Regions from separate parts of the Homo sapiens genome. Here all the other regions are linked to region 1. The links are contacts of gene promoters, found by promoter capture Hi-C in blood cells and fetal thymus (Javierre and others, 2016). All regions are on one chromosome and are shown on one strand. Each heading gives the region's core, a stretch centred on a gene start or on the middle of the fragment in contact. The rest is flanking DNA. Distances are from core to core; before and after follow the strand shown.

What was found. The method cuts DNA at HindIII sites, captures the fragments that hold promoters and counts their contacts. A CHiCAGO score of 5 or more calls a contact.
Region 2: a fragment that was not itself captured here is called in contact with the fragment with the promoter of WWP1 in region 1 in 2 of 17 cell types (monocytes and erythroblasts); the score reaches 7.6 in monocytes.
Region 3: a fragment that was not itself captured here is called in contact with the fragment with the promoter of WWP1 in region 1 in 5 of 17 cell types (activated CD4 T cells, total CD8 T cells, total B cells and 2 more); the score reaches 7.0 in activated CD4 T cells.
Region 4: a fragment that was not itself captured here is called in contact with the fragment with the promoter of WWP1 in region 1 in 4 of 17 cell types (activated CD4 T cells, total CD4 T cells, non-activated CD4 T cells and 1 more); the score reaches 9.6 in activated CD4 T cells.
Region 5: a fragment that was not itself captured here is called in contact with the fragment with the promoter of WWP1 in region 1 in 1 of 17 cell types (monocytes); the score reaches 5.6 in monocytes.

Annotation. Positions count from the first base shown.
Region 1 is chr8:86,339,838-86,343,841 of GRCh38, reverse strand. WWP1 (WW domain containing E3 ubiquitin protein ligase 1) reads right to left here and starts at 1,295. Exons shown (of 25, transcript NM_007013.4): 1 at 912-1,295. WWP1-AS1 (WWP1 antisense RNA 1) reads left to right here. Exons shown (of 6, transcript XR_007060994.1): 2 at 182-252; 3 at 566-760. RefSeq lists a silencer at 745-1,204. The HindIII fragment of the contact is 10,725 bases long and covers 1-4,004 here.
Region 2 is chr8:85,430,390-85,434,393 of GRCh38, reverse strand. No RefSeq gene overlaps it. Among named protein-coding and RNA genes, the nearest start is that of CA3, 6.5 kb to the left of the region's middle. The HindIII fragment of the contact is 1,321 bases long and covers 1,109-2,429 here.
Region 3 is chr8:85,478,713-85,482,716 of GRCh38, reverse strand. CA2 (carbonic anhydrase 2) reads right to left here. Exons shown (of 7, transcript NM_000067.3): 7 at 1,224-2,047. The coding sequence ends at 1,928. Among named protein-coding and RNA genes, the nearest start is that of CA3-AS1, 16 kb to the right of the region's middle. The HindIII fragment of the contact is 782 bases long and covers 1,944-2,725 here.
Region 4 is chr8:85,497,510-85,501,513 of GRCh38, reverse strand. LOC105375937 (a long non-coding RNA gene) reads right to left here. Exons shown (of 7, transcript XR_929129.4): 3 at 329-459. Among named protein-coding and RNA genes, the nearest start is that of CA3-AS1, 35 kb to the right of the region's middle. The HindIII fragment of the contact is 1,438 bases long and covers 1,187-2,624 here.
Region 5 is chr8:85,530,774-85,534,777 of GRCh38, reverse strand. It overlaps LOC105375937 (a long non-coding RNA gene), which reads right to left. Exons shown (of 7, transcript XR_929129.4): 6 at 1,129-1,255; 7 at 18-376. Among named protein-coding and RNA genes, the nearest start is that of CA3-AS1, 68 kb to the right of the region's middle. The HindIII fragment of the contact is 3,691 bases long and covers 410-4,004 here.

The DNA.
Region 1 (4,004 bases), core at 46-2,545:
CAAAATCTTGTTCCACATTAACCTACACACACACAGAAAAAAATTTGTTAAACTTATCAAATAGAAAAAGAAGGCAAAATCAAGCCCCTGGAAAATATTTTATTCTGAAAGAGTAAAAATGTCAAAATTATAACAGACACTACTCTTCTTTGGTAATGAAGGTTTCATATATTTACCACAGCAGAGAAAACTCCAAATCGGCAGAGCAAAGAAAGGACTGTGAACAAGACTGATCATTTAAAGGTCGTAAAGGTAAGGAGCAAACTACAAAATTAAATTTTTTTAAAAAAAGAACACGAAGATGAAAGGAGAGTCTGTAAGTCACAGACAAGATAAGGACTGGTAAAATCTGCAAGGTCACTGGAACCTACCAGGTCACAAAAGGTGGAGGTGGGGGTTGCGCTGGGGGGGCGGGGGATGGGGAGCTGCAGAGTCGGTGAAGAACGGAGAGTGATAAAAACATGTCAGAAAAAGACGTTCCAAAGCTGGAGTCCTTGGTTTGCAACGCTGAAATTGGGGTGAAAGTCAGGGAACGGGCAATGAGTCCATGTATTTGTGTTTTCAGGGAGGTGTTAGGGAAAGGTGGAGGAAGGCGAAGAGAAGGCTAAGGAAGCCTAAGAACTGCGGCTGCAGAGTCACGGAAACACTTCGCTCCGCTCCAGGATCACTGGCACAGGCCTTTGCCAGGGCGAACTCCGGGCAAGACCCGTGACCCCACCCCAGAAAACTCCCGACTCCCGGGCTGGAGAAGGTAGCCAAGGTAGGGCGGACCGTCCCCCGACGGGTCCTAGGAGGGTCCAGCCCGGGGGCGGACGGCGCCGGGCGCCCAGCACCGCGGCCAAGGCTCAGGGCCCGTGCCCCCTCCCGCCCTGCCCATTCGCACCCCCAGCCCCGCGCCGCGCCGTCCTTACCCGGCGCGAAGCTGTCGGCTCCCGGCAGCCGGGCGGCCACGGCAGCGGCACCTCCTCCTGCGGCGGGCGCCCTCACCCTTCCGCGCCCAAGATCGCCATCTCGCAGCAGGCGCGGCGGCAGCAGCCACCCAGGCGTCGGCCCCGGCAGCCCAGGCCGCCAGCAGCCACTCGGAACCCGCACGCGGAGCTCGCCGACACCCGACCCTCCCCCCACCCCCACCCCGTCCACGCGCCACCCCCAGCCGACCCCACACCTCCCTTCCTCGGGAGCGCGCCGCGTGGCCGCGTCGCCGGCGCCGCGCCCTAAGCGCGCGCCTCCCCGCCGGCCCCGGCACCGCGCGCTACGCCGCGGCCGCCCAAAGCCTCCAACTCCGGACCCGGAATCCGCCTCCCCCGAGCATGCGCAGCGAGGGCGCTCGGATGCTGCCTTAGGAAAACTCCGCTCCTCCGGGTCTTCCGAGCAGTCTAGCGGAGGGGGACGGACAGCCAATAGTAGGGAGGGGCGGGGCCTGAACGTGTGGAAGGGGCGGGGCCGCCGCTGAGATTTGGGAAGAGGCTGCTCTAAGCTCGCGCTGGGCACTGCTAATTTGACTTTCCGGTCGGCGGCTGATCCCGGAGCAGGACTTCTTAAGGTCCGGGGGCAAAAGTAGGCTGTCCATAAATACTCCTTGACCTAGCTGGGTGACCTCGAACACATTGCAAGAGTAAATAATTGCATTTAGCCATTGGTCATACCCGAAGACTTTCAGTCCATTTTTTATTAATCAAAACGTTCATCTGTGGAAGCCCCACCACCTAGTCCTCACTCACATCAGCCCGGTGATAAAGCAGATACTTATTGACCGAGTATACGTGTCCGCACAATTAACGCACACAACAATCTGACAAAGTAGTGTCTACTGTCTGCATTTTACAGAAAAGTCAACTAGTTTAGAAAAGTACTGTTGGTTATGTGTATTGCTTTTAGAAGAAAGGCCAATGTGCAAATAGAAGTCAGTGGGACCACATTGCTTACCAGGTGACCCGGTTTCTACTTCAGAGAAGCAGAAGCCTTCAGGCATGGATTTCTACAGCTTTTGCCCAACCACCTGACCAACCCCCATAGATTATATCTACGTCCACACCCAGACTTACTAGTTTTCCTTCTATCTCGGAGGCTAGATGTCCCTGCTCCTCTCCACTGCCTGCTCCCCACTGTGGGCGGTCCTTGGCACATCTTTAACTTCACCCTCTCCACTGCCTACAACTCCTCAGCATAATCACGTTTTAAGATTAGGTCCTAAATTTTCCCTTGATTTTAAAACCTCTGGTTCTCTCTCCCCTTCCATTTTAACTGAGCTTTTTGAAAGAACTGTGTACCAAAAACAACCCCAACACTTCATGAGTGTGTACAGAATTCAACAAGTATCTCTTGACTGAACAATGCACATTCCCGCCTACCTCCATGCATTAGTTCTTGTCCTCTGGCTTCATAGTTGAAATTGGTGCACATTATATCCACAAAGATCATTCGAAAATATACATCTGTGTCATTCCACTGCTTAAAATCATTCTTTGGCTTTTCGGAGCTCTCCTGACAAAGATTAACGTGATATTCAAGGTTCCTTTGATGCTCACATGCTCTATCTCTCCTGTTATGAAAAACTCTTCACAGTGCCCCATATGTGCCCACTCATCTCTGCTTTAAACATGTACTAAGATTTTCTTCATCTTTTTGCTTTTGCTGTCTGGTCCCTTTAAATAGATGCAATAATGTGCTTACAAACACGTCCTCAGAAATTCCGTAGGTATTCCCCAGCAGGGATCTGGACTCCTTCTCCAGAATGCATGCAGGCCTCCTCTTCCTGCTCTGTGTCTCACTTTCAGCTCCCCTCATTGCTCAATTTCCTCCCCGTTCAGAAGCTCTTAGTACTCACCTAGTCCTCAAGCTGACACCCAATATTGAACCAGCCTTTTGTTATTGACTGTTTGGTTTCAAATGAACAATATTATAAATAGTATTCCATAACCATTGTTCATGTCCTTATTAACTGTCTTAGATAAATTATTAAAAGTAATAAAAAAGTATGAACAAGTTTAGCCCTTTTGAAACATATTGGCAACTACCTTCCAGAAAGAGCATAGGCTCAGGTATCACATCGCCCAGCATCAAAACACAGCTCTGCCACCCAGTGCCACATTCTGACTTTCACAGGCCCTAGGTGCTTATACCTGTGTGGGCCTCATCTTCCATAAAATAATACTACAAAATATATTTTATTACTGCATTGGTATGAAGAAAAAGATATTAACATTATACATTAAAATATTTTCTTTGACCTAAATATTCAATTTTTTGCCTTCTGATTTTAAAAGAAATTAAAACATTTTTATGGGCCCCCGAAAGTGTTATAAGCCTGAGGCACTGTGTCTACTGTGCCTAATGGATAACCTGACCCTCCTGCTGCCTATGAGCTGAGAGATTTGGCCAATTGCTTAATCTAATTGTGTCTCAACTAGAAAATTAATATAGTGCTTCCACATGTTGTATTAAAAAATATATATAAATTGCTATAAATAACACGCATAGAGCTACTTAACACATGAGCATGGCACATAATCAAGAAATGATTGTCATAATGGTTATCAATTTTCCCACAACACTACATGACAGTATGTGATTGTCCTTCTTCCATGTGCCCAAATCATCATGGTATGTTTTCATATGTGTATGTATGGTAGCTTATTGTTTGTCCTTTGTCCATTTTCTTACTGAGGTATTTCACAAAAGGGTGCTTCACACAATGTAGATATTAGTCCTTTGTAAAACTATTGATCTTTTCCATTTTTGTATTCTTCCATTGTTTTTTACTTCATACATCTTTCCCATCCTGAGATCATATAATTCATCTGTCTTTACTTTTTTCTACTTGTTTGACTATTTTACTTTTTTCATTAAATAATTTAATTTTCTTGGATTTATTTTGCAATGATAATCTAACTTTTATTCCTTTAAAAATAGCTCATGGTATTCCCCCAAACCATTTGTTTAAAAAATTGTTCTCTAACTGTAGTGGTTTTAAAATAGGTCTACAGGCCGGGCACTGTGGCTCA
Region 2 (4,004 bases), core at 520-3,019, 910 kb after region 1:
CCATGTGTACCCATTGTTTAGTTCCCACTTATAAGTGAGAACATGTGGCATTTGATTTTGTTTCTGGGTTATTTCATTCAGGATAATGGCCTTCAGCTCCATCCATGTTGCTCTGAAAGATATGATTTCTTTTTTTTTATGACTGCACAGTATTCCGTGATATATATATGCCACGTTTTCTTCATCAAATCCACCATTGATGAACACCTGGGTTCATTCCACGTCTTTGCTAATGTAAATAGTGCTGCAATAAACATACAAATGCAGGTGTCTTTTTGATGTAACATTTTTTTTTTCCTTTGGGTAGATACCTAGTGGCAGGTATTGCTGGGTCCAATCGTAATTCTGGTTTTATTTCTTTGAGAAATGTCTATATTATTTTCCATAGAGGTTGTACTAATTTACATTCCCACCAGCAGTGTATAAGCATTCCCTTTTCTCCATAACCTCACTAACATCTGTTTTTTGACTTTTTAGTGATAGCCATTCTTACTGGTGTGAAACAGTATCTTTCTTTTTTCTTTTCTTTTTTATTTTACTTTAAGTTCTGGGATACATGTGCTGAATGTGCAGGTTTGTTACATAAGTATACATGTGCCATGGTGGTTTGTTGCACCTATCAACCCTTCATCTAGGTTTTAAGCCCCACATGCATCAAGTATTTGTCCTAATGCTCTCCCTCCACTTTCTCCCCACTCCCTGGTAGGCCCCAGTGTGTGATGTTCGCCTCCCTGTGTCCATGTGTGTGAGACGGTATCTTATTGTTGTTTTAATTTGCATTTCTCTAATGATTGGTGATGTTGCGTTTTTCTTGTGTTTGTTGGCCACTTGTGTATTTTCTTCTGACAAATGTCTGCTCATGTTCTTTGCTCACTTTTTAATGGGGTTATTTGTTTTTCTAGACCCTATCTCTCACTATATACAAAAATTAACTCGAGATGAATTAAAAGACTTATATCTAAGACCTGAAACTATAAAAATCCTAGAAGAAAGCCTAGTAAAACTCTTCAGGACATTGGCCTACGTAAAGAATTTATGATTAAGACCTCAAAAGCAAATGCAACAAAAACAAAAATAAACAAATGAGACTTAATTAAACTAAAAAGCTTCTAGACAGCAAAATAAATAATCAATAAAGAGACAACCTACAGAATGGGAGAAAATGTTTACACACTATGCATCTGCCAAAGAACTAATATCCAGAATGTATAAGGTTCTCAAACAACTCAACATGAAAAGTTATTGTCTTCAACCTGCTTTCCTTGGCTCCCTGCAGCCATACTAATTCAAGGCCAAGCCACTGTTGGAGTTGCATTGACTCATATTTGGAGGGTGGAGGTGGGAGGGTTCTATTTTCACCGTAATATAAATTATTTTCCTTCCTTGGAAAAAATCAAGCATCTACCTCATGTCTATAGCAGCTAGGAAAACAAAACAAAACAAACAAATAAACTACAAAAAAAGTTCAATTTTACATCTGGAGCTTCCTTTAAAGTATTGTTACCCTAGGCTGGTTGGCTAACTTCTCAGAATAATAATTGCCCTGGATACTTCACTTGGTTTTTAACACTAAATGAAGAAATACATGTCAAGCACTTGAAAACTAACATTTTGCATGTATTATTCTCATTTTATAAGTTTAATTAAATAAATACTTAAGATCTGGGAAGTTTTCATGCAGGAAGCACGATTTTTTAAAATTACGTCATTTAAAAAATAAAGCATCATTTAAAAAATTGCAAGTGCCATTTTGCAAGGCAAAACCTGGTGAACTGAAGATCATAACATCTTAAAGACATTAAGAGACGTTAGAGATTGCCTTTCATCAAATTTCCAAATAGCAGTGCAGAAAAATATCTGCACTGATTGCTTGAATTTTATAGCCCTTTAATGTTAGTTATTTCTTTATTTTTCTAAAATTAAGTAATGAAGACTAATAGAAATCTTTCAATTAGTATAATGCCCCACAAGCTATTTTATCTCATTTACTCCAAATAAGTAATAAAATTTAAATAATATATTCTTAAAATTTTTTAAATACTGATATAATGAGGCATGCAATTTTCAGTATTTTAAGGGTAAACATGTCTGCTATAAAAATGCTACTTAAAGCAGGACCAGAGTATATGATTGGTCTGTCATAAGTATTTTTAAGAAACATGGCATTGGTTAAAGGTATGATGAAGAGCACAATGAAACAAAATGAACAGATAAAATACTGTTAGATAAATTTGAATCTCACATTTAAAAAAATCAAGATTCCAATTAATTAGCAGCAATTAACTCTTTCCACAATTCATTACTTATGGTTTTCAGAGGTTAATTTTAAAATCAATTCTCTGTATCTATATATCTACCTATCTGTCTAGCAATATATGCATGTTGCCATGGATGTATATCTGTAAAGTATTCTGGAGAGTAAACAAGCTTCATAATCATGGACAAAGTATGTTCTTTATGTTACTGGAAACAGTTCCTGACCCCAAGAGAGGGTGCTTGAATCTCATGCAAGAGAGAATTCAGGGTGAGTCCATAGAGTAAAGTGAAAGCAAGTTTATTAAGAAAGCAAAGGAATAAAAGAATGGCTACTCCATAGACAGAGCAGCCCTGAGGGCTGCTGGTTGCCCATTTTTATGGTTATTTCTTGATTATATGCCAAATAAGGGGTTGATTCTTCACGCCTCCCTTTTTTAAATCATATAGGGTAACTTCCTGATGTTGCCATGGCATTTGTAAACTGTCATGGCATTGGTGGGAGTGTAGCAGTGAGAACCACCAGAGATCACTGTTGTTGCCATCTTCGTTTTGGTGGGGTTTAGCCAGCTTCTTTACTGCAACCTGTTTTATCAGCAAGGTCTTTATGACCTGTATCTTGTGCCAACCTCCTATCTCATCCTGTGACTCAGAATCCCTAACCGTCTGGGAATGCAGCCCAGTAAGTCTCAGCCTTATTTTACCGAGCCCTTATTCAAGATGGAGTTGCTCTGGTTCAAATGCCTCTGACATTTATATGAAAATAAATTAACCACCCCATGCCCTACATTACAATGGGAACAAAAAGAAAATGCTACTCAGTATTTCTACTTTCTCCACTGATCCTAAGATGAACTTATTTTATACTCATCTACAAAAAAAAAATGCTGTCAATTAAACCATAACACACTGCATTTTAAAAATCCCACCAACACTGTCTTAGCACTAAGATTAAGATATGATTAGTTTTTATCTGTTGGCTTTAGAAAGTTATTTGGACACTTTTGATTTTGCCTCTAAATGATGAGGAGGCACCTTGTCATTGTAAAAAAAATATGTATTTTTTCTTTAGATATGGCTCTATAATGTTTGTTACTTTGCTTTGCTTAACCTAATCCATCTTCTTGACTTGTGATGTTTTTATAAAAATAATTACTGTGATATAATATGAATTACTCTTATAAGTTACAGTCAACTGAAATCCTACAAATATATATTGGCATATGGTTTGGTATTTGGTATTTAAATAATTTTAAACTGGTATGAAATCCCTAAGTAAATTTTTTCAAGCCAGAGACATCCATTTTTCAAGCCAGAGACACCCACTGATACTAGTTAACAAGTATCAATGTAAAGAAAAATGCAATTATGGAATATAATATGATAAGCTACATAGTCTTTGAGATGGTTATAACACATACTCATTTATGTGGAACGTAAAATTGAGAAAGGGAATTTCCAATTTGAGCGTGAGTAGCTATATGAAGCTAATTGCTTCTATGTGCTCTGGTACATAAACCATTTACTTTGTTTTAGCACAGGAACGTTTTTAATGAAACAGGAATGTTTTTAACTATATCTTAGAAAAAGATAGAGAATTCTCTTTCTATGACCTTGAAAAGCACAATGCAAAATGAATACCTAATGATTTGAAATTCTGCGATACTAAAAGGGTTGAAAGAGATCAGTATAAATATTGATGTCTAAAACAAATGTGTTGTGTTACATGCTAGAATAAATGCTTTTTCTGG
Region 3 (4,004 bases), core at 1,085-3,584, 860 kb after region 1:
AGCTGAAACTGGATCCCTTCCTTACATCTTTTACAAAAATTAATTCAAGATGGATTAAAGACTTAAATGTTAGGCCTAAAACCATAAAAACCGTAGAAGAAAACCTAGGCAATACCATTCAAGACATAGGCATGGGCAAGGACTTCATGTCTAAAACACCAAAAGCAATGGCAACAAAAGCCAAAATTGACAAATGGGATCTAATTAAACTAAAGAGCTTCTGCACAGCAAAAGAAACTACCATCAGAGTGAACAGGCAACCTACAAAATGGGAGAAAATTTTTGCAACCTACTCATCTGACAAAGGGCTAATATCCAGAATCTACAATGAACTCAGACAAATTTCAAGAAAAAAACAAACAACCCTATCAAAAAGTGGGCAAAGGATATGAACAGACACTTCTCAAAAGAAGACATATATGCAGCCAAAAGACACATGAAAAAATGCTCACCATCACTGGCCATCAGAGAAATGCAAATCAAAACCACAATGAGATACCATCTCACACCAGTTAGAATGGCAATCATTAAAAAGTCAGGAAACAACAGGTGCTGGAGAGGATGTGAAGAAATAGGAACACTTTTACACTGTTGGTCAGACTGTAAACTAGTTCAATCATTGTGGAAGTCAGTGTGGCGATTCCTCAGGGATCTAGAACTAGAAATACCATTTGACCCAGCCATCCCATTACTGGGTATATACCCAAAGGATTATAAATCATGCTGCTATAAAGACACATGCACACCTATGTTTATTGCAGCACTATTCACAATAGCAAAGACTTGGAACCAACCCAAATGTCCAACAATGATAGACTGGATTAAGAAAATGTGGCACATATACACCATGAAATACTATGCAGCCATAAAAAAGGATGAGTTCATGTCCTTTGTAGGGACACGGATGAAACTGGGAACCATTATTCTCAGCAAACTATCACAAGGACAAAAAACCAAACACCACATGTTCTCACTCATAGGTGGGAATTGAACAATGAGAACACATGGACACAGGAAGGGGAACATCACACACTGGGGCCTGTCGTGGGGTTGGGGGAGTGGGGAGGGATAGCATTAGGAGATATACCTAATGCTAAATGACTAGTTAATGGGTGCAGCACACCAACATGGCACATGTATACATATGTAACAAATCTGCACGTTGTGCACATGTACCCTAAAACTTAAAGTATAATAAAAATAAATAAATAAATAACCCAGAATAGAATTCTGAATTTTATTAGAGAATATATCTAAAATACAATATTTATTAAGTTATGATATATTGTCTGAATGGAAATATACTCTGTATCACAACTCTAATTATAACAATTTTTACAGATAATACTTCATTTATATCTCTGTAATTCAAAAGTCATTAAATTACAACAGAATTCATATTTAAGATAACTTTGCTATAAATATATAATAATTTTTAAAGTTTTTCTTTAATATAACATCTTGAAATCATGAACATTTATTTTTTCTGGTTTACATTACATAGAATCATGACTATTTTACCTGATTTGCCTTAACTAGCTCAATTTATCTTGTGCTATGGATTTGCACTCAACCATTCTACTTTCCTATGTTTTAAAAGCAGCATTTTAGTCAACAATTGTGAGTGCTCATCACCCTACATGCTGTGAACAAAGTCAAGGTACTTTATTCTTATTTCTTATCCTATATTCTGTGTTACAGAAAAACTACTACCATAAACAAAGCACCAACCAGCCACAGCAGTTGTGTCAAGCATGACAATTGGTCTAGTCTTCACATTTTATTAGTAAGTCTATCAAGTAAGAGATGAAGGGTCTAGAAAACTAGACACAAAGCAACCAGGGTCCAAATCACCAAGGTAGATCTGTGCTTAGCTAAAGGGAAACACCCGAAGATTCATTATTTGGATACAGACTATGGGACCATCTTATTTGAAGGAAGCTTTGATTTGCCTGTTCTTCAGTGGCTGAGCTGGGCGCCAGTTGTCCACCATCAGTTCTTCGGGTTCACCCTCCCCATTGAAGTTAAGTTTACGGAATTTCAACACCTAAAAGACACAATAAAACATTGATAATTAATGTTTCACAATGGTATTCAGTTATATACTTGTGTTATATCTTTAAATACATTCCCCGGCCAGGCGCAGTGGCTCATGCCTGTAATCCCAGCACTTTGTAAGGCTGAGGCATGAGGCGGGTGGATCACTTGAGGTCAGCAATTCGAGACCAGCCTGGCCAACATGGTGAAACCCTGTCTCTACAAAAAAAAAAACACACACACACACACACAAAAATTAAACAGGCGTGGTAGAGCACCTGTAATCTCAGCTACTCAGGAGGCTAAGGCACAAGAATCATTTAAACCCTGGAGGCAGAGATTGCAATGAGCTGAGATTGCGCCACTGCACTCCAGCCTAGGCGACAGAGCAAGGCTCTGCCTCAAAAAACAGAAACAAAAACAAACAAAAATTACATTCCACAACATTCAGTGCTGTGCATCAATGGCCAAAATTCAGTTTGATTCCTAATGAATACATAATCACATATAGATTATGTATGTATGCTTTAATATAACAAACCAATTTATACAAAATACACAAATTCGTTGGGGTCATTTTTAAGGGAAATTTTCAGTGACCTTCTAATTTAAAAATCTAACATCAAAAGTCTATAAACTCATACCTTTAGATGCAAAATAATAACAATTTTAGTTCCAAATTAAAGCTTTGTTTTCTGCCCCAGGGAAGACAAACTACCACATCCATACAATTAGATCAAGTGATCAGGACCTGTAAGCTCCATGGGCTGAGTGACGAGCTGGCATCTCCAAATACACAAAAACACGGAAATGAATTTGCCTAGGCTGATTTGCCTTAAGAAGCTCAATTTATCTCATGCTATGGATTTGCACTCAACCATTCTACTTTCCTGTTTTAAAAACAGCATTTTAGTGAACAATTGTGAGTGCTCACCACCCTACATAGCCCTACTGGCATTTTGCCAATATATGCATTTAACATTAGAACCCCTTGTCACTGGTTGATTTTTATTCCCTTATAAACTTGTTTCAGTTTACTGGCCACCACTGAGATACAGGCAGCTGTTGAACAGTCTCCCACTTCTTCAAGGTTCTCAAAAAGTGCTACTTTCCCCCCTCTAACCAAGACGTGATCCAAATGCAAAAGGGTGGTTTGGACAGTAATATAGCAGCCCATGAATCAACAGCCTTTAACCTGATCTCTTTTGTCCAGTAATAGTCCCTCAATCACCCCCGTAGAGCCACCTTCCATGCACATACATTATAACATGCACAGCTATGGTTACTGAATGCAAGGGAGCATTCTAAGGATATATAGGGTTGATTCGTTACAACAGAATTCCAGCAATCTGAAAGAGAGTCTGTTCATAAAGTGTAAACAGGTCAAACTTTTGATCAAACCAGTATAACCGATTTCTGCTACTCACTGCACCAATTAAACTACACTGTCACATTAGTCAACTTGACTCATTGTTTTAGCATCACAGAGACAGAGCCTGGGTATAGAAAATAAAGGTAGCAGAATTAGCAGACCCATTTATACTGCTTACCTAAAATCCACGCCCCCCCATACTTCCTCATTAACAGACATCCGCCCTCTCCCTGTAAGCCTCAGTGGGGTAAACCTGCAGGTCTTAACTGACTGTGATGATCACATTCCCGGGCTAGGGACTGAGCAAGAAACACAATTCTAGCCAGTGAGAAGTGAAAGGTTTTCTAGGGGCCTTCAGGAAAGAGCTTCTCTGCTCTTAGGAAGCCAATGGAAGAGGTATTCATTTCCTCCTCAAGAAGTGGTTATATCTAGATGTGATGCTCAAAATGCTATTACAACCACCTTGAGGATGAAGTCACCAATTGGCAAGGCCAAGTCAAGGGACTCAGATAGAGGAGGACCTGCAGCCCTAGCTTCCTGAGCTGAGCATGATCCTTCCTCCAGATTCCATGTTATAGGACAAAAAAAAGAGCCC
Region 4 (4,004 bases), core at 656-3,155, 840 kb after region 1:
GGGAGGAAGGATCTCGGTAAATATGCATGGAAAAATGTGGTCTCTGATTACGCATATGTAGACACTTTGGATTATTTAAAGGACATAATAAGTCAGGCCACCTTAAGAGATGGGAGGTTAAGAATTTACATAAACAGACCAGACGGAAACAAAGAGCTGTCAGAGAGACCCAGACAGCTCTGAGGACTAGCTTCTTCATCCTCCCCTCTGAGTTTTGGGGTTTTTGTCTTGAAGGCTCCCTGTGCTGTGTTGTTTTCCGTTCTTTGTTACACAATCCTCTTTGTAGCCTTCAGGCTGTTTGTAAAGGAAGACTACCTGATAGGCTCACCTATTCATTGTTGTCTCTTCTGGGGAGAGATCTTGATTTCAAGTCACTTCTTGGTCCAAATTTGAGTTAGGTCTCTTCCACAATCCAATAAGTGGTCAATGGTGCTCAGAGAATAGCAGACCACTGCTTTCCTGAAATTATTGAGAAACAACTTTAGCTGGAATGGGGCCTGGCAAGGTGATTATGACCAATTGCGGAGGCTAATGCAACTCCACCTTGGATGCTAATCTGCCGTGTTGGCTTCTGATCAACCTCTGTTCCTGGAGGGCCTCTAAGATTTCCAGTTTATCCATTGCTTCTCGCGCAAAGGTATTTACTGTAAATCTTACCTTTAGGTCAAACAACCTAATATACTTCAGTTATCATACTTCAGATGTCCTACACATCCTTTTGGAATTATCCTTTCCCTGTGGTATGTAAGCCCTGGGTTGGTGGGGTAATAGCATGAGTTTCCAACATCTTGTCCCACCACCTCCCGAGATACCGACCAGACACAGCTTCTGATCATAAGTTCCTATTAACTATTTCTTTCTAAGAAACTGATCTGTCACTCCTCCTTTGGCCTCTCAGCTTCCTTGAATTTTGGGGTTGGTTTGCATAGACCTGCTCAACATGGAACACCACAGCATTAGTTTATATGATCTCTAACCTAATGATCTGATTTAATTTGCATCAACAGCAAGGAGTTTGCCTAACTCTCTGCCCAAAGCCTTTTCAATACAAGTCTAACTCATTTTTTTCCAGTCTTTGAAGAACAATGGAAAATTATATGAAGTGTTGCTTCAGAATTCTTTAAAAAAAAAACATAGTATTTGAACTCCAGATGTGCCAGAGTATTAGTTACTGAAGAAAAAAGCTTGAAAGTGAATTGTTTCTCCTTATAGAATCAATGAGTTGACACAAAACCCAATTCATGCTTACTTTATACAAAAAGTACTTTTGTCACCTAACAAGACTGTGACAGCTTTATTTTACTAAAGATTAAAGAAATTTGATGCACTGATAACAATGTCATGTTCTGACATGTATAGAAATAGCTTTGCAGCCAGGCACTGTGGTACACGCCTGTAATCCCAGCACTTTGGGAGACCGAGGTGGGTGAATCACCTGAGGTCAGGAGTTTGAGACCAGCTTGGCTAACATGGTGAAACCTCATCTCTACTAAAAATACAAAAATTAGCTGGGTGTGGTGGCAGGCACCTGTAATCCCAGCTACTTGGGAGGCAGAGATAGGAGAGTTGCTTGAACCCGGAAGGTGGAGGTTGCAGTGAGCAAAGATGGCGCCACTGCACTCCAGCCTGGGTGACAGGAGTGAAACTCCTCTCAAAAAAAAAAAAAAAAAAAAGAAGTAACTTTGCTCTCATTGTAAAATAACAAGTCTTATAACTATAACTTTATATGGATAACAAACATACAGGTGAAACACAGGACATGAACGAGACGCACATTGCTTCCTGAAAAATGAGGTTTGTAACAACATACATTTGAAGACATCAGGGACATGAGTGCAGCTTGATAAAGTGTTTAATATTTCTAACTTGGGACCTCCACAAATATTCTGTAAAAATTTTCGCCAATCGTGAAAGATTTACATATAATATAAACACATGGTACATTAAAATGTGCTTTCTTTCTCCTTTTAAAATTTATATTGAATCTGTCACAGTAATTAAAACATGCCATATATATTTTATGAAGTTTTTTAACAGGAAGCAACAATGAAATAAAGTGTAGGCCCAATTAAGACACGTTTAGCAATTAGTGAAGAATAAAGTTTCCCTTTGTCATGTAACACAAATTTTTGTGCGGAAAGATATTTTGAATGGTGTTAAGGGTTGAATTGTGTCTCTCCCCCTCAAAATAATATAAGGTTGGAGTCCTATTCATTGCCGATGGAATTAGTTAAGATGAGCTCATCTTAAGTAATGGAGTAGAGTGGGCATTCCATGGTATAATCCAATATGACTGGTGTCTATAAAAAGAGGATATTTGGACATAGATACACAGGGAGCATGCCCTGTGGAAATTGGTGGTATGCTGCCACAAATCAAGTAACTGCCAGAAACTAGGAGACAAGTCTGGGACAGAGCCTTCTCTAGTACCTTCACAGGTCTGGCCAACACCTTCATCTTGGTCCCAGGGTCCAGAGTTGCAAGACAATAAACTATTGTTTAAGCCACTCAGTTTGTGGTACATTGTTACAGACACTCTAGCAAACTAATACATGGTCAACCACAGTTGGTAAGTGGATATAGGAATCCCCTCTCACTCAGTGAATCCATAAGAAGGTTAAGCTTATATGCTGAGGAGGAGCAGAGTTAGACAATAGCCCAAGTATCTGTTAGAATGAATTAGTGTATATAAGAGCTGAAAATCTACCTGCCTTTGAAAAAGATACAAGAACACTGACCTCACTGAGATTCAACCCTGTAAAAATGCATAAACTGGGGTGATATGTGATTGAAACCAGATTGCATCATAAAAGGGAAAGCACCAATAGGGAAGATGATGCCTGGACCCCAAGCTGTCCTCAGTGTGAAGGCCAAATGGGGCCTGCGCTGTGGGAGCACTCGAGAGACAATGACGTGTGTGTGTGCATGCGTGTGTGTGTGTGTGTGTGAAAGAATTGTGCATGCCAGCATTTAGAAGCACAGACAGTTCTAAGCCAATACATTATAATATAGATAATATAGAGAGAGACAAGAAGGGATTCTACTCACCTCTTTTTCTTTTTTTTTTTAATTTCTTGTGTCTTTAAAACAATTTTTTTTATTTCTGTAGGTTTTTGAGAAACAGGTGGTATTTAGTTACATGAGTAAGTTCTTTAGTGGTGATCTGTGAGATTTCTGTGCACCCATCACCAGAACAGTATACACTGAACCTGATTTGTAGTCTTTATTCCTCACCCTCTTCCCACCCTTTCCCCCTGAGTCCCTAAAGTCTATTGTGTCATTTGTATGCCTTTGTGTTCTTATAGCTTAGCTCCCACTTATGAGTGAAAACCATATGTTTGGTTTTCTATTCCTGAGATACTTCACTTAGAATAATAATCTCCTTTCCCATCCAGGTTGCTGCAAATGCCATTAATTCATTCCTTTGTATGGATGAGTAGTATTTTATCATATATATGTATTTATCATATATATATTTATCATATACACACACACACACACGCACACACACACCTCAATTTCTTTATCCACTCGTTGATTGATGGGCATTTGGGATGGTTCCACATTTTTGCAATTGTGAATTGTGCTCACCTCTCAAGAGCATCACAACTTGTGTGAGTTGAAGGAGGTATGCACTAAGGCCATGAGACTATAAGGCTCAGCTAGAAGCCCTGGCAATGGTGACAGTGCTACCAGAGATGTGAGTGGATCCCCAGCCCCAGGACAATGGCAGATCTCCCTTTCCCTCACTGGTAGCAGGAGTGATGGGAGGAGACAGAATCAGAGACATTTCAGGGGACCATCACCTGTGGAATTTGCCCACAAGAAATGTCTGTGACTTCCTACTTTATCAGCAGGCAATAATAGTGAATTATGCCCAATGAATGTTTCTTGAAGAGATGTATATACCTCTCAGATCTGAAGAAATCTCTGGAGAGAAAGAATCTTTCGCAGATCAGACTTTCTTGTGAGTCTATCAGGTAGGATCAGAGCATCAAAAATGT
Region 5 (4,004 bases), core at 1,006-3,505, 810 kb after region 1:
AACATAGAGGAAAAGTGTGGAGAAGAGGAGCCAAAATACATCTATTTATTTGTTACAAGCTACCAGAGTCCAATGAATGCAGTAGATAGCAACATTTTTGCCCGTGCTGTTTCCAATAGCTACCATAGGAAGTGCTGATGTAAATTTGGCTAAGTGGCTGTTTCTCACTGGAATGTGATTAAAACAAAAGCAATGCTAGACCACACCAAGGATTTCAGGCAAGATGCCAGCTTTTCCAAGGGAGAAAGTTGAAAAGTACTTCAGTGGTTCAGAAACTGTTACAAACCAAACACGTCACTGTTGCTGTGAAAAGGAAAGGTCATAAGCATGTTGTTCCAGTGTTGAGGAATTGTGGATGTAGCTGCAAGTTGGTTCCCTGGGAATAAAAGATTTTTTAAATTGAAAAGCTTGTGACTGAAACCTAACACCCAATACCAAAAGCTAATGGATTTATTGTTAGGGTATCCATATCCTATTATCTACTTGAGCATTTTCTAGACTCTAATAGCAACCCAAAATTCATTAAACCTTTCTATAATTCAAAGAAACACAAAGTCTGAGATATACAGGTTTCAAATCACAATCAAGGTATGCTATAACTTAAAACACTCTCAAAATATGAAGTTTCACCTTAATCCAAAAGATGTCAATTTTTCCAGAAAATGTAGCAAGATCTACAGATTTATATACTCTGTTTTTTGATAATACCAAAGATGAAATATACAGTAGGTTTTTTTAAAGAAAAATGTTATCATTCAAATATTTGTTAAGATGACATTTTAATCAAGTATCTTGAGAAATATACCAAAATCAGATTTTATTAACAGATATTTCAAAGTAGAAATGTATTTCATTATTACAGAATTACCCAGCATGGGGACACTATAAATTCTCTTTAGAAGATAAAACGTTATTCAAGTTTTTACATATCTAAAATAGTATAAGGAATAGTTCTCTATAGGTTTAATAAGATGCTAAATAAAACTTAGTTTGTGTTTTAATACTGATTAAAAAGAAAATGGTAGATTGTCTATAACTGTCTCAATTCAGAACACTTCTTTCATTTGTTTCATTGGGATTTGTCACTATTTTGGAAGTGAAAACTTTCACTTTCCGTTTTTTCCCTACCTGAAACTCTCCTGGACTTCTTTTGGTCATTACATTCAAGCCCAAATTGTTTATTCATTCACCATTTCTGTCTTCACTCTACAAACTCTTTATGTCATCAAAGCCATGTAGGAGTCTTTAGGTATGACTAAAAGGAAGACGAAAAATTAGTAATTTTTAACAGGTAGTAAGTAGTCTTCTTTATATAAAATTCCAAAATTTTCCTCTTATCCCAAACAGCTTTTCTTCTATGTCTTATAGAGCAACTGAGGCAATGAGTTACTGCTCAGCCCTGTGTTTTCTTGGAGTCCTAATAAAGATCACAGCGATGCGGAGGAATGTGGTGTCATGGCTCTTGCTTTTTTCTTAGGAGCTAGCTTGTGGGTCCTCCTTCTGTGCTAAATAACTTTCAATGATTATTGCAAGGGCTGTGCACAAGTTTGGATACCACATGAAATCAATTTGTTAATTTTCACTTGTTTCCCAAAGAATAATTAATCTCTGTGATAGAACCAACTTAACACTTCCATTTTGAGGGTCCGTTACCTGAACCATGTCAATACAGAGATTATTTTCAAAGTTACTGAGTCAGTTTTTTAAGGGCCACTGGATAGGTTTTAATCATGACTTTTAAAGTCAATTAATTACAAGTAACTCAGATGTGTTCCGTTCTGAGACTGTTTCCACACGTTTGTTAAAATTGATTCCCCTTTGGGGTCAGGTTGTACTTGCTTTGTTCCTGCTGAAATCAACATTTTGGACTCAATGAGTTTTCTTGAGTCCTATTATTTTCAGAAACTTTGCTATGGAAGAATTACTTTCTCTAACACTCAGAGTTGACATTCCATGAGACTGAGTATAACACATCCCGTACCTTCATCTACCCAAGTCAGGATTTACGCTGGGATCTGAAACTCATACCGTCGCTCAGTTCAAAATATTGCTTTTCCCCAGAAGAATATTTAGGAGTCATGGAGTCAGAAGAGATTAGCACAAGGGAGGCAGAGGATGATGGCAGTGTGGTTCTAAGAGGAATCTCAAAGGGCTCCTTCTCTAAAGGTCTCAAGTTTTACACCAATGATTGCCTGAACATGTGGGTAGAGTTGATTAAAAACTGGAATGAAAAGTATGTTATTCTTAAGGAACCAGGAGACCCAAGTTACATCTGGTAGGGCCTGGATACCATTTATATTCAGGAATAGAACAGCAACTATTTTTAGATGTAATTATTCATAATAATAAAAGGTAGCCTTATTATGCTCTTCACAGATGATACTCATGCTTCTTTAGTTCAACCAAATCTAAAATGCATATATTATCACTTCGTATTCAATGTCATTGGTTTTTCCTCATGTTTAGTTACTGTATTGCAATTACATTGCTTTATTATCCCTTTCATTTTAGATGAACAATTCCACAACCATATTAAAGACGTAATAATCTTTTCCTTGTTATTTTGAAAAACCAAGTATACAATTTCTGTTAGAATGTGCATTGTAATTTCAAATAAAAGATTTTAAAACAAAATTTTGCAGTATATCCATTTATGAACTGGGTCCTGATGGTCCTAACAGCTGAGTCCAAGAGAACTGCCAGAAGGGGAGAGTCAGTAGGGAAGGATGTGGGGGACCACAGAGATGAACTTCTTTTTATAGGGAGATACATTTAAAGAGGGTAGTAATTAGACTGGGTACGGTGGCTCACGCCTGTAATCCCAGGACTTTGGGAGGCCAAGGCAGGCGGATCACACGAGGTTAGGAATTCAAGACCAGCTTGACTAACATGGAGAAACCCCCACCTCTACTAAAAATACAAAAAATTAGCTGGGCATGGTGGCGCATGCCTGTAATCCCAGCCACTCAGGAGGCTGAGGTAGGAGAATCTCTTGAACCTGGGAAGCGGAGGTTGTGGTGAGCCAAGATTGTGCCCTTGCACACTCCAGCTTGGGCATCAAGAGCGAAACTCCGTCTCAAAAAAAAAAAAAAAAAAAGCAGGTAGTAATCGGTGAGGGAGTTTGGGGTTAGTGCTGATAAAGGGAAATTTATTGTGTTGAAGGAGAGCCATAGATTAAATATGTGTTGTCAGTGAATTCTGAAGAACATATTTCTCAGCAAGACATTGAGAAAAACAAACTAGATAAAGAGACTGTAGAATGTTTATATTCTTCTGACCAACCAAAGTAAGGCAGGCCAAGTTTATGGTTGGAATTACTCCAAATGGAGAGAGGTTCCAGCTACATTCAAAGCACTGGCACCTCTCCCAGTTGCTCTAGTGATTGACCCCCTCCTAACCTTAATGATTTTATAATATAAGGTAACATGCAAGCAAAATAAGTCTTACATAGGAGTAAGGTCTGCGGAGGAAAGTGTATGGGTGAAGGATGAGATCGTGAGGGAAGACACTTAGGTGAACTACATGGAATACTGTCACCCTGAGTGCTACAGCTTCTCACGTTTTAATGCACACACACATCACCTGGAGGTCTGGTTGAAATGCATATTCTGGCTTAGTAAGTCTAGGGTGGAGCCTGGGACTCTTGCATTTCTAAAAGACTGCTGCTGATCCATAGGTCACATACCCTAGACGTCTTGCCTCTCCCTCTGACATCAGTGTCAATAAATTATTCATTCCTGAATCCATCTCAACTGTTCTACTGTGTAGAATTGGTGTCCAGTAGGAAGTCCTGGAAGTGGGAAACTGGGAATCTTTCTCCCTGGGACTTTTGTGAACTGGCTTGACTGTTAGCTGTGGCCACTTGCTGTCTTCGCCAGTTCCTTGGCTTTTGCTATCATCAAACTCATCCAAACGGGTTAGGAAAAGTAGAAGCAGGCCCCAAAGGGGATATTATTTATTAAGTAAAAAATAATTTTGCTTGGATGAACAAGACATACAATATG